Regions from separate parts of the Homo sapiens genome. Here regions 2 and 3 are each linked to region 1. The links are contacts of gene promoters, found by promoter capture Hi-C in blood cells and fetal thymus (Javierre and others, 2016). All regions are on one chromosome and are shown on one strand. The core of a region is centred on a gene start or on the middle of the fragment in contact, and the rest is flanking DNA. Distances in the headings are between cores, read along the strand shown. Region 1 holds the start of SLC66A2 (solute carrier family 66 member 2). Region 2 overlaps KCNG2 (potassium voltage-gated channel modifier subfamily G member 2). Region 3 has its middle 34 kb from the start of KCNG2.

Region 1 (4,447 bases), core at 1,246-3,745:
GCATGTGGCCGGGCACGCTGGCTCATGCCTGTCATCCCAGCACTTTGAGAGGCCAAGGCAGGAGGATCGCTTGAGGCCAGGAGTTCAAGACCAGCCTGGCCAACACAGAGACCCTGTCTCTGTTGTATGTATTTATTTTTGAGATAGGGTCTCACTTTGTCACCGAGGCTAGAGTGCAGTGGTGCGATCCTGGCTCACTGCTGCCTCAACCTCCTGGCCTCAAGCAATCCTTCCACCTCAGGAGTAGCTGGGACTACAGGTGCACACTACCATGCCCAGATAATTTTTCTATCTTTTGTAGAGACGAGGTCTCACCATGTTGCTCAGGCTGGTCTCGAACTCCTGGGCTCAAGAGATTTACCTGCCTCAGGCTCCCAAAGTGCTGGGATTATAGGCGTGAGCCACAGTGTTTAGGGCCCACCTGGATAATCCAGGACAATCTCTCTATCTCAAGATCCTTAATGACATTAGAAAAAAAAATTGTTTTCCCATACGAGGTAATATTTACAGGTTGCCTGGATTAGGACTTGATGGCTTTATAAGGGCCATTTTCCAGCTGTGCATGGCTTGGTCGGCTTCTCTTGTTTGCAGGAAGCTATGTGACAAGCGCAGCACCTGCAATGAGCTGTGATTGGCTGATGTAGACTGGGGGTGGGGGCTCGGACCCCCGGCAGGTGGTGTTCGAAAAGGTACAAACTCACTCTGCAGTCATCAACTCACCTTTCGGGGTGCCTCTGAGGCGTGAGGCCTGTGGGGTGACGTCCGAGCATGCCAGATTTCGTCCACTGAGCCGGGCTCCTGGAGGCCCCGTGCACAGATGCAGCTCTAGGCCCCAGGCTGCGGGCACAATTTGCCCCATGCCTCCACAGCCTCTGGATTTAAGATAACCGAGGATAGCGTCTGGGACCCCAGTGCTCCCGTGAGGGTCAAGGAGGTCCGGAGCTTACTCCAACCTCCAGGGCAGAGAGGACAGATGATCCCAAAGGCTGCTGGGCTCAGGCTAGGGCGCGGCTGAGCAGGGGCAGCTGCTTTTTCTCTCCCAGGCTTCCTGCTGTGCCTTTTACTCACCTCTACGTTCCTGGTGCTGGGGCTCCGCAGCGCTGGCTCTAAAGAAGTTCCAACGCCAGCCTGGGGGCGCAAGGCAGGAGCGCCCTGTTTCCTCGATTGTTGGGGATTTGCTCCTAGTTAGGTGGTGACTGTCCTTATGATCCCCCATAAAACCAGTCGGGCAGGGGGCAGGGGGCAGGGGGCCGGGATCGTGGAGAAGAGGCCGCGGCTGGCGGGGAAGCAACCCTCAGCGTGGACCCCTCAACCTCGCGGCTCGCCCCTTACCCGTGCACCCCTCGCCTCACACCCCCGCGCCCCTCACCCACGCGTCCCTCACCCTACACACACCCGCCCATCACTCGCGCACCCTTCACCCCTCACCCACGCTCCCCTCACCCTTCACCGGCGCGCCCCTCACCCCTCACCCCTCACCCAGGCGCCCCTCACCCTTCACTCGCGCATCACTCACCCCTCACCCCTCACCCACGCTCCCCTCACCCCTCACCCCTCACCCGCGCTCCCCTCACCCCTCACCCGCGCGCCCCTCACCCCTCACCCGCGCTCCCCTCACACTTCACCCGCGCTCCCCTCACTCTTCACCCGCGCGCCCCTCATCCACGCGCCCCTCGCCCTCAGTCCTCACCCGCGCGGGCCAAGAGGGTCCCGGGCGAGGGCAGCTCCCCGCGGGCGGGTGTGGGGCTCGGAGTTGGCTTGGCACGCGAGGCCGGCAGCAGGGCCCGGGCTTCACGCACGCCTGGCCCCCGAGTCTGTCTTGAGGCTCAGGAGCTGCCTTTTCTGCAAATAGGCGCCCAACGGTTCAGCCCGGAGAACTACACGGGGATGGGGAGAGGCCGCCCCGCGTTTCTGCAGCGACAGCGACCGTGGCCGCAACCACGATAATGACAATGGCCACGGTGACGGCCGCGCGTCCAGCCGGCCCCCCGGCGACGGCCCCGGCGCATCTGCTCGTGGGGCACTTGCATCGGAGCGGAGACCCGCGGGGGGCGCTCCGTTTCCCGAGACCCCGGCCGCCTCTGGGCGCTGCAAACTCCGAGCCGGGTCCCCGGGTCTCCTGGGTCAGGACAGAGCTGGACGAGACTCGTCCCCGGGTGGCCCGCATTCAGGACACGCGTGAGAGGGGCGTCCGGACCCCGCGCCCCCGGCCCTCCAGGACGACGCCCTCCGCTTGGATGGCCGCGCGCCGGGACAGCTGGAGACGGGTTAACGTGGGCGCCAGGCCTGAGGGACCGGCCCCGCCCGGCTGGTATTTCCCGACCGGGCGGGAGGAGCCACGCGCCCCCACCGCCCCGACAGCCCCGGCTCCCGGCCCCGCCTGCGCCCGCCCTGCCCAGCGCGCTCTAGGACACCGCGGCGCCTCCGCGCAGCTCCGGCGTGGGCGGGGCCCGGCATTGTGACGTCACGGGGCGGGGTTTCCCGGCGCCTGAGCGGACTGACGCCGAGACGCGCGCGGGTCAGCGGCGCGGGGACGCGGGGCGCTGGGCGCGGGGCTGGGGGCGCAGGTAAGGAGCGCGGGGGCGGCGCGGGGTCCTCGGGGGGCGGCCTAGGGCGGCCGAGGACGCAGGGCCGGGGCAGTTGGTCGCGGCCTTCAGTCCCCTGGCTTGGTCCTGTGGGGTCCCCGGCCCGGCACCTCCTCCCGCGAGCCGTGCGCCCCCATCCTGGGCCTGCGCCCCCTTCCCCCGAGCCGTGCGCCCCCATGCTAGGCCCTGTGACCCTCCCCCGAACAGTGCGCCCCGATCCTGGGCCCTGCGCCCCCTCCCCCACCCCATCCCGGGGCGCGCGTGGACCCCCGCCGGCTAAGCGCACCCGGGCGGTGACCCCAGGGGCTTCGCCCGTCCTCGACCCCGGCGCTGGGACCCCTCCCCAGCCCCCTCCGGGAGCGTCTCGGGACCCCCAGACACCCCCCCGTCCCAGGCAGGGGCCGCTCCTCGCGCGCCCCGGGCCCCGGTCGCCCCCGCTCTGCCTCGGGTCCTGCGGCTGGCGCGGGTCGGGTCGGGTCCGTGCGCGCCGCCCCAGCCTCCCTGGGCGGAACTCGAGCAGCTCCCCGCTCCCCGCAGGCCCCGAGGCCGCAGGAGCGCGCGGAGCGGCGATGAGCAGGCGGCCGGTGGCCCGCGGGGCGCGGAGCCCGTGACAGCCTCGGCCAGGCGGGCGCTGCGATGGAGGCCGAGGGCCTGGACTGGCTCCTGGTGCCACTGCACCAGCTGGTGTCCTGGGGCGCGGCCGCGGCCATGGTCTTCGGAGGGGTGGTGCCCTACGTCCCGCAGTATCGGGACATTCGCAGGACGCAGAACGCCGACGGCTTCTCCACCTACGTGTGCCTGGTGCTGCTGGTGGCCAACATTTTGCGGATACTCTTCTGGTAAGTTGGGGGCTTGCTTTCCTGGGCTGCACCCGGAGAAGAGGGTTTCTCCTTTGGGGTTTCTGGTTGAGGCCGGGGGAGCAGCAGGGTCCACACCTCCCTGCTGGGCCAGCGTCCCACTCTGCCGTGGATGGGGTACGTGGCTGCAGGCAAGTCACTTCTTAGGGTGAGATTATTTTTCCAGAAAAACGGTGGGGTTGGAGCACAGAATCTCAGAGAAAATCTCCAGATCCGCCTCCTTGCATGATGTTCCACATGGGTACTTAGCAGGGACCTCTCAGCTGGGCACTGGCCTAGGCCTGCCTGTGGAGAGGAGCCGTTCCTGCCCTCCTTTTTCATGTTGTATAGTTTTTCTTTGTTGTTTTGAGAGAGGGTCTTGCTCTGTGGTCCAGGCTGAAGTGCATGATGACATGACAGCTCACCGCAGTCTCCACGTTCCTGGGCTCAGGTGATCCTCCCATCTCAGCCTCCCGAGTAGCTGGGACCACAGGCGCACCACCACACCCGGCTAATTGTTTTTTTTGTATTTTTTGTAGAGACAGGGGAGTGGGGGGTTGTCTCACTTTGTTGCCCAGGCTGGTCTCGAACTCCTGGCCTCAAGCATCCCTCCCCACTGGGCCTCTGAAAGGGCTGGGATTACAAGCTGAGCCACGGCGCCTGGCCTGCCTTATTTAAATAGGAAGTCACTCTCTCTGGAGACTGTCTTGTTCCTCTCCCCAACTTCCTCTTTGTATTTGTATTAGGCTAAGGAAATTGAAATTAATTTTAACAGTTGTTGAAGGCAGACATAATTGGGAGGGTGAGTTTTCAGAGGAAATGAGGTCTCACAGCTGCATTCTAAGGCCAAAAACGTCTGAAATTTTTCTTTCTTCTGGGTGATCCCAGCCTCTCTGTCCGGGCAGATTGGAAGGTGTCTGCTGCTCTTCCTATGAAGAGGGCCTGGTGGAGGGGTGGAGAGAAGGAGTCCAGGCAGCTGGTGTCAAGAACTCTGCTTCTGACTCTGGTCACTGAGTAATCACGTAC
Region 2 (4,317 bases), core at 96-2,595, 140 kb after region 1:
GACTTATTTACCCAGAACTTCTACTAAGCCTTTATGCATATACATATACATTTTTAGAATTAAACCTTTTGAGATTAATAATAGATTAACATGCAGTTGCAAGAAACAATACAAAGGGATCCCCTGTACCCTTTACCCAGTTTCCGCCAATGGTGGCCTCTTGCAAAACTGCAGTACAATCTCACCGCCAGGATTGATGCTGACCCACGCAGGCAGTGTCACTCCTGCCACCCCCTCCCAGCTCTGTAAAACCCTGGCAGCCCCTAATCTGCTCTCATCTCTATAAGCTTGTCCTTTCAAGAATGCCGTGCAAATGGAATGGCAGAGTCTGATTATTTTGAGACTGGCTTTCTTCACACAGCATAATTCCCTGGATATTCATCCAAGCTGCTGTGTGTACCGATAACCCATCCCTTTCTACTGAGAGTATTCCGCAGTACAGAAGTGTGATCGTCGAACTATCACCTGTGGAAGGGTCTCTGGGACAATTCCAGTTTTTGGTTGTTAGTAATAACATTATGAAAATTTGTGTCTAGGTTTTTATGTGAATATATTTTCCATTTCTCTGGGATAAATGCCCAAGATCACAATTGCTGGGTCATACGGGAGTGACATGTTTAGTTTTATCAGAAACAGCCAAACTGTTTCCTAGAGTTGCTGAGCCATTTTACATTCCCAGCAAGGCATGAAAGGTCATTTCTCTGCATCTTTGTCAGCATTCGGTGTTGTCAATATTTTCTATTGATTTCAGCCACTCTGGTAGATGTGTAGGGGCACAGTGGTTTTAATTTGCATTTCCCTAAAGGCTGACGGTGCTAGGTGTCTTTGCACCTGCTTGTCTGCCTTCCATGAGTTTTCCACAGTGAAAGGTCTGTGCACACATCTTGTACATGTCTAACTGGACATGTTTTGAATATTTGTTTACCGGTGATTTAGAGAGTTCTTTATATATTCCAAACTTTGGTCCTTTAGTGAATACGTGGTTTGCAAATATTTTCTCCCATTCTGTAGTTTTACGCTTCATGCTCTTAAAATGTCTTTTGCAGGGCAGTTTTTAATTTTGATGAGGTCCAATTTATCAAGTTTACTTTTTATGGGTTATACCTTTGTTGTCAAGTCTAAGAAGGCTTTGCCTACCCCTGTGTCCCAGTGAATTTCCCCTATCTTTTCTAGAACTCTTATGGTTTTATGTTTACATTTAAGTCTGTGATCTGCTTTTAGTTGATTTGTGTAGCAGGTGGAAGGTTTAGGATAAGCTTCTCCATCCTCCCTCCACGCTACCCCACCCATGGATGACCAACTGCACCTACAACATTTCTTGAAAAGGCTTCAGATGTGGATTTTTTGTGGATGTTCTTTATCAAATTGAGGATCTAATTCTAGTTTTCTGGGAGTTTTTATTGTGAGTAGATGTTGGATTTGTCAAAAGCTTTTCTGCATCAATTAATATGATTGTATATCTCTTCTGTTGATATGGTGGAGTACAGTGTTTGACTCAGAATGTTGAACCAGACTTGTGTGCCTGGATTAAATCTCATTTGGTGCAGCAACTTTATTCATTGCTGGATTCAATTTCCTAATATTTTGTTGAGGGTTCTGCATGTGAATTCGTGAAAGATACTGGTCTATAGCTTTCTTTTTTTATTTTTAAATTTATTTATTCATTTATTTTAAGATGGAGTCTCACCCTCTCACCCAGGCTGGATTCCAATGGCGCGATCTCGGCTCACCGCAACCTCCCCCTCCTGGGTTCAAGCGATTCTCCTGCCTCAGCCTTGTGAGTAGCTGGGATTACAGGCACCCGCCACCACACTCGGCTAATTTTGTATTTTTAGGAGAGATGAGGTTTCACCATGTTGGCCAGGCTGGTCTCAAACTCCTGACCTCGTGATCCGCCCTCCTTGGCCTCCCAAAGTGCTGGAATTACAGGCATGAGCCACTGTGCCTGGCCTATTTACTTATTTTTGAGACAGAGTCTCGCTCTATCACCCAGACTGGACTACAGTGGTGCGATCTCGGCTCAGTGCAACCTCTGCCTCCTGGGTTCAAGTGATTCTCGCGCCTCAGCCTCCTGAGTAGCTGGGAGTACAGGTGCGCACCACCACGCCTGGCTAATTTTTGTATTTTTAGTAAAGATGAGGTTTTGCCATGTTGGCCAGCTTGGTCTTGAACTCTGGGCCTCAAGTGATCTGCCTGTCTTGGCCTCCCAAAGTGATGGGATTACAGGCGTGAGCCACCAGGCCCGGCTTATAGTTTTCTAGTTTTCTTTTTTTGTAATGTCTTTGTTTAATGTGGTCGCCAGGTATGGCTGACCTCATTAAACCTCACATTGAGTGAGGAAGGGTTCCCTTCTCTTCTTTGAATGTTTGGTAGAATGAATTCTTCTTTAAGTATTTGGTAGAATTTTCCAGTAAAATCACCAGGTCTGGAGATTTTTCAGGACTTTTTAAGAATTAATTCAATTTTGTAACATATTATTAATATTACTTTGAGACCTTTTGTCTCTTCTAATCTAAGCACTGGATGTTATAAACCTCCCCCAAGAACTGTTCCGACCGTATCTCACATATGCTGCTCTGCTGTATTTTCACTTTCATTCAGTTCTATGTGTTTCGAATTTCCCTTTGAGACTTCCTCTTCGACCCATAGATAATTTTAAGGCATGTTATTTAATTTCCAAGTATCTGGAGATTTTCCTGTTGTCTTTCTGCTTCCTGAATCTGTAGATCTATGTCTTTTGCCAAATCTGGGAGGTTTTGGGGGCATTCTTTCTTCAAATACTTTTTCAGCCCCACTCTTTCTCCTCTCTTTCTGGGGCCTGATGATACAAGTATTAATACTTTTGTTATCGTCACACAACTCCCTGTGACTCTCTGCCCATGCTTTCCAGTCTTTCTTCTCTCTTCTGTTGATGTTGGGTAATTTCTGTGGGTCAGGTTCACTAATTCCATCCAGCGTGATCTCCCCTTTACTGTTCACCCCATGCAGTCAGAGTTTAAAAAACTGTTGTTATATATTTCAGTTACGTGATTTCATCTTTTTCTTTTTTATATCTTTCATTTCTTTGCTAAGATTTTCTATTCCTTCATTTGTTTCAGGAAAATACATGATTGGTGAAGCATTTTAAACCCATCGTTGATTGGTGAAGCCTACTTTAAAATAGTAGTCATATAAACCAACATCTGATTCAGCTTGATGTTGGTGTCTGTTAATTGTCTTTTTTCATTTATGTTCTGGTTTTCTTGGTTCTTGGTGAGTGACTTTTTTTTATTGTATCATGGACATTTTGGATATTTATTCTCTTGTATGTGGAATCCAGTTGTCCCAGCACCATCTGCTGAAGAGACTATTCTTTCTCCATTGCATGGTCTTGGCACTCTCATCAAAAGTCAGCTGACCACAGATGTATAGGTTTATTTCTAGAATTGCAATTGTATTCCATTGATCAATATGTCTCTCCTTATGCCAATACCACACTATTTTGCTTACTGTAGCTTTGTAGTAAGTTTTAATAAATAGTGTGAGAACTCCAACTTTGTTCTTTTTAAAGATTTTTTTCACTTACTTTGGTCCCTTGTAATTCCATATGAATTTTAGCATCAGCTTGTCCATTTCTGCAAAAAGTCAGCTAGGATTTTGATAGGAATTGTATTGAATCTATAGATCAGTTTGGGAGTATTGCCACCTTAACAATGTTAAGTCTTCCTATCCGTGAACATGGGATGTCTTTCCATTTCTTTAGGTCTGTAATTTCTTTCAGCAATGTTCTGTAGTTCTCAGCATACAAGTCTTACACCTCTTTGGTTACATTTCTTGCTAGGGGTTTTACTCTTTTTGATGCTATAGTAAATTGTCTTCCTAATTTCCTTTCCAGGTTTTTCATTGCTAGTATACAACAACACGCTGAGTTTTGAGTATTGTTTGACTCTAAGTTCTGGTTTGTTTTTGTTTTTGAGAAGAGCCTGACTCATGCTTCTAAGGTTGGACAGTCCTCATCATTCAGAGACTGTGCATATATTTACTTCTAGTTTTTTTCTACGTTTTTTGGTTTGTTTTGTCTTTTTATACAGCATCTCACTCTGTCACCCAGACTGGAGTGTGATGGTGTGATTGTAGCTCACTGCAGCTTCAAACTCCTGAGCTCAAGTGATCCTCCCACCTCAGCATCCCAAGTAGCTGCAACTACAGGCCTGTGCCAGCACACCTGGTTAATTCTTTTTTTTTAGAGACAGGGTCTTGCTATGTTCCCCAAGCTGGTCTTAAATTTCTGAGGTGATCTTTCCACCTTAGCCTCCCACAGTGCTGGGATTCTAGGCA
Region 3 (4,119 bases), core at 763-3,262, 190 kb after region 1:
TACAGCTTTCAGCCTAATTGAGCTCTCACCTGAAAAGAAACAGCAGCGTTGGCGCCAGGTGTCAAGGCAACGCATGCAGCAGACTCACGCCTTCGATGATCAAAATGCATCTTCCGGGAACTGCCTGGAATGAAGGGAGGTTTGAGGTGACATCTGAATGACTTTCAAGGCATTTTCTGTCCGGTCGTCGCCTTCTGTCTGTCTCAGGGTGCAGCAGAACTCATCACTGCACTTTCCCGACTCTTCCAAAGATCTCGAGGTTGCTGGAGAATTGTGCTTTTTAAAGAAAGTGCCTCTTAATTGTCCTTGACAAATACATAACCCAACCACAGGGATGTTTATCTCTGGCCAAGGCAGCTCATCTGTAAGTCATTCTGTCAGTTCGGGCTGAGCCAGTTTCTGACTTTCAGACAACTGCCTTTCCAGGCCTCCTTGGGAAAGCACTGCTTAGAGCTCAGCCTCCAGCTGCTGACAGCGTCTTCGTTATCCCCGGCAGGTGTCACGAGCTGACTGTTCACGGGGCGCTCACTGACATCTTTCCTTCCTTCTTCACTGCAAAATGTTAAAAATGAATCTTTAGAAACTAGTTCTAACAACAAAAAATAATCCTAGGGGCTCAAATGGTGCCAACGCCCAGCTCTCCTCTCTTCAGAAGCCTGGGGTGTGGGCACAGCAGCCACGTTCCCAACACCAGGGCTGAAGGCAGACGTGGCATCTGCCCTCTGCATCATCTCACTAATCATTGTTGCTTTTCCAAAGAAGCAGTCCTGGCCATCTGGGCAGCTCTGACTCAGAGAGCCCTGGGATCCACCCTACGGGGCTGGAAATGGGTTTCCTGGACCTAGGACAAAACCACACTTTCACACATGGGGCCAGGGTACGCTGCTGGTGACCCTGGTCACTCACACATGGGGTTGGGGCTATGCTGCTGGTGACCCTGGTCACTCACACATGGGGTTGGGGCTATGCTGCTGGTGACCCTGGTCACTCACACATGGGGTTGGGGCTACGCTGCTGGTGACCCTGGTCACTCACACATGGGGTTGGGGCTACGCTGCTGGTGACCCTGGTCACTCACACATGGGGTTGGGGCTACGCTGCTGGTGACCCTGGTCACTCACACATGGGGTTGGGACTACGCTGCTGGTGACCCTGGTCACTCACACATGGGGTTGGGGCTATGCTGCTGGTGACCCTGGTCACTCACACATGGGGTTGGGACTACGCTGCTGGTGACCCTGGTCACTCACACATGGGGTTGGGGCTATGCTGCTGGTGACCCTGGTCACTCACACATGGGGTTGGGGCTACGCTGCTGGTGACCCTGGTCACTCACACATGGGGTTGGGACTACGCTGCTGGTGACCCTGGTCACTCACACATGGGGTTGGGACTACGCTGCTGGTGACCCTGGTCACTCATACATGGGGTTGGGGCTATGCTGCTGGTGACCCTGGTCACTCACACATGGGGTTGGGACTACGCTGCTGGTGACCCTGGTCACTCACACATGGGGTTGGGACTACGCTGCTGGTGACCCTGGTCACTCACACATGGGGTTGGGGCTATGCTGCTGGTGACCCTGGTCACTCACACATGGGGTTGGGGCTACACTGCTGGTGACCGTGGTCACTCACACATGGGGTTGGGGCTACGCTGCTGGTGACCCTGGTCACTCACACATGGGGTTGGGACTACGCTGCTGGTGACCCTGGTCACTCACACATGGGGTTGGGGCTACGCTGCTGGTGACCCTGGTCACTCACACATGGGGTTGGGACTACGCTGCTGGTGACCCTGGTCACTCACACATGGGGTTGGGACTACGCTGCTGGTGACCCTGGTCACTCACACATGGGGTTGGGGCTACGCTGCTGGTGACCCTGGTCACTCACACATGGGGTTGGGGCTATGCTGCTGGTGACCCTGGTCACTCACACATGGGGTTGGGGCTATGCTGCTGGTGACCCTGGTCACTCACACATGGGGTTGGGGCTACGCTGCTGGTGACCCTGGTCACTCACACATGGGGTTGGGACTACGCTGCTGGTGACCCTGGTCACCCGGGGACCATCAGTGCCCCCAAGGGCTGTGTCTCAGGAAAACCAGCAGAGGCATCCCCAGGTGAAGGAGCTTCCCAGGCAGGTAGAGGCTGGCCAGGCACACGACCCATGGTGAATGCATCAAGCAGTACCTTGGAGGCTGTTTCCTAAAAACTGGTGTCTTGTGTTGACATCATATCTGATGGCTACACAGTCTCCATCAACTGCGAGCTGCCAGCCACACGGTCACCACCCACCAGGCCCTGCAGGGAACTGTCCAGGAGCCTGAAGACCAATCTCTGTGCTTTGCAGTCACTTCTAGAGAAAGGTGACAGTTAAATGTCATTCCATCAACTGTGGGAATGAGCTCGTGCAGACACTTTGGGAAGGCTGACGACACTGCCTGGGCCCCAGCTTTCTGGCTCTGCAGCTCCGAGGGTTTAGAATATTCTCTCTGAAGACATAACTTTGCCCACCTGGGAGGGGCTTGCTGTGAGGTTTCCCTTCAGGTCCTTCTGTTGTTGGAAAAGCCGTTTTTGGCTGACCAGGTGTGGGGAGTGTGAACCAGCATCACTGACTGGGAGGGAGTGTCAACCAGCATCACTGACTGGGCAGGAGTGTGAAGCAGCATCACTGACTGGGAGGGAGTGTGAACCAGCATCAATGACTGGGAGTGAGTGTGAACCAGCATCTCTGACTGGGAGTGTGAACCAGCATCACTGACTGGGAGTGTGAACCAGCATCACTGACTGGGAGGGAGTGTGAAGTAGCATCACTGACTGGGAGAGAGTGTGAACCAGCATCAATGACTGGGAGTGAGTGTGAACCAGTATCACTGACTGGGAGGGAGTGTGAAGCAGCATCACTGACTAGGAGAGAGTGTGAACCAGCATCAATGACTGGGAGTGAGTGTGAACCAGCATCACTGACTGGGAGTGTGAACCAGCATCTCTGGCAGGGAGTGTGAACCAGCATCACTGACTGGGAGTGTGAAGCAGCATCACTGACTGGGAGGGAGTGCAAACCAGCATCAATGACTGAGAAACTAATTCCACACTATCCAGGAAAACTGCACTGGGGTGCCCCCCAGTCCCAGTAACTCTACTTGTGGGTATTTAACCCCAGAGGCTCATTCACGAATGGATCAGGACATAGGTAAAGAATGCTCAGGCAGCTGCATTTGCATAAAAAGAGCCATAAGCAACACAAACGTCCGGCAAAAGGAGGACAAGCTGTGGAACAGAAACATCGCTGAGCACGGAGGGCAGTGATGGACCACGGCTGTGTGCACGGACAAAACCCTGAAGCACACGAGAAGTCAGAAAGAACAGGTTCCCTCCCTACTTACCATGGGGTCCTGTCCTGATAAACCCAAGTGTCCCAAGTTGGAAATGCATTTGAACACTTAACTAACTCTCCAAACATCATGGCTTAGCCCAGCCCAGATTAAACGTGTCAGAACCCTATGTTAGCCGACAGTTGGGCAAACTTGTCTGACACAAAGCCTATGTTATAATGAAGTGCTGAATATCTCGTGATGTACTGACTACTGAACTGAAACTGGTAAGCAGAATGGCTGTGTGCATACTTGGAGCACAGATTCTAGTGAATGTGTATCCCTTTGGAACCAGTCTAAAGTCAAAAAACTGTTGTCAAACCATGGTAAGCTGAAGACCGTATTGAGTACAAAAATGGGCAAAACCAAACATACAGTCTTAAGCATAAATATACATGTGGTAAAATTACGCAGAAAAAAAATCAGCGATTAATATGAAATTCAGGATTTGTCTAAGGGTATGGCGGGGGAGGAGAGTACCCAGACAGGAAGGGCTCCGAGAATCCTGTTTCTTACACAGGGTGCTGGGTTAACAGGTGGTTGTTTTACTTTTTTTTTTTTTTTTTTTTTTGAGACGGAGTCTTGCTCTTTTGTCCAGGCCAGACTGCAGTGGCGCTATCTCGGCTCACTGCAAGCTCCGCCTCCCGGGTTCATGCCATTCTCCTGCCTCAGCCTCCCGAGTAGCTGGGACTACAGGTGCCCACCACCGCACCTGGCTAATTTTTTGTATTTTTAGTAGAG

The links. Contacts are between HindIII fragments. The CHiCAGO score rates a contact against its expected background, and 5 or more counts as called.
Region 2: a fragment that was not itself captured here is called in contact with the fragment with the promoter of SLC66A2 in region 1 in 2 of 17 cell types (M2 macrophages and total B cells); the score reaches 6.1 in M2 macrophages.
Region 3: a contact is called between a fragment that was not itself captured here and the fragment with the promoter of SLC66A2 in region 1, in 1 of 17 cell types (neutrophils). The highest score is 5.4, in neutrophils.

Annotation. Positions count from the first base shown.
Region 1 is chr18:79,949,701-79,954,147 of GRCh38, reverse strand. SLC66A2 (solute carrier family 66 member 2) reads left to right here and starts at 2,495. Exons shown (of 6, transcript NM_025078.5): 1 at 2,495-2,567; 2 at 3,123-3,424. The coding sequence starts at 3,222. LOC124904336 (a long non-coding RNA gene) reads right to left here and starts at 1,339. Exons shown (of 2, transcript XR_007066429.1): 1 at 1,069-1,339; 2 at 1-872. RefSeq lists silencers at 1,964-2,013, 2,144-2,653, 2,974-3,053, 3,094-3,213. The HindIII fragment of the contact is 12,677 bases long and covers 1-4,447 here.
Region 2 is chr18:79,810,510-79,814,826 of GRCh38, reverse strand. The region is part of intron 1 of KCNG2 (potassium voltage-gated channel modifier subfamily G member 2); the gene reads right to left. Among named protein-coding and RNA genes, the nearest start is that of KCNG2, 15 kb to the right of the region's middle. The HindIII fragment of the contact is 173 bases long and covers 1,259-1,431 here.
Region 3 is chr18:79,762,349-79,766,467 of GRCh38, reverse strand. No RefSeq gene overlaps it. Among named protein-coding and RNA genes, the nearest start is that of KCNG2, 34 kb to the left of the region's middle. The HindIII fragment of the contact is 4,886 bases long and covers 1-4,119 here.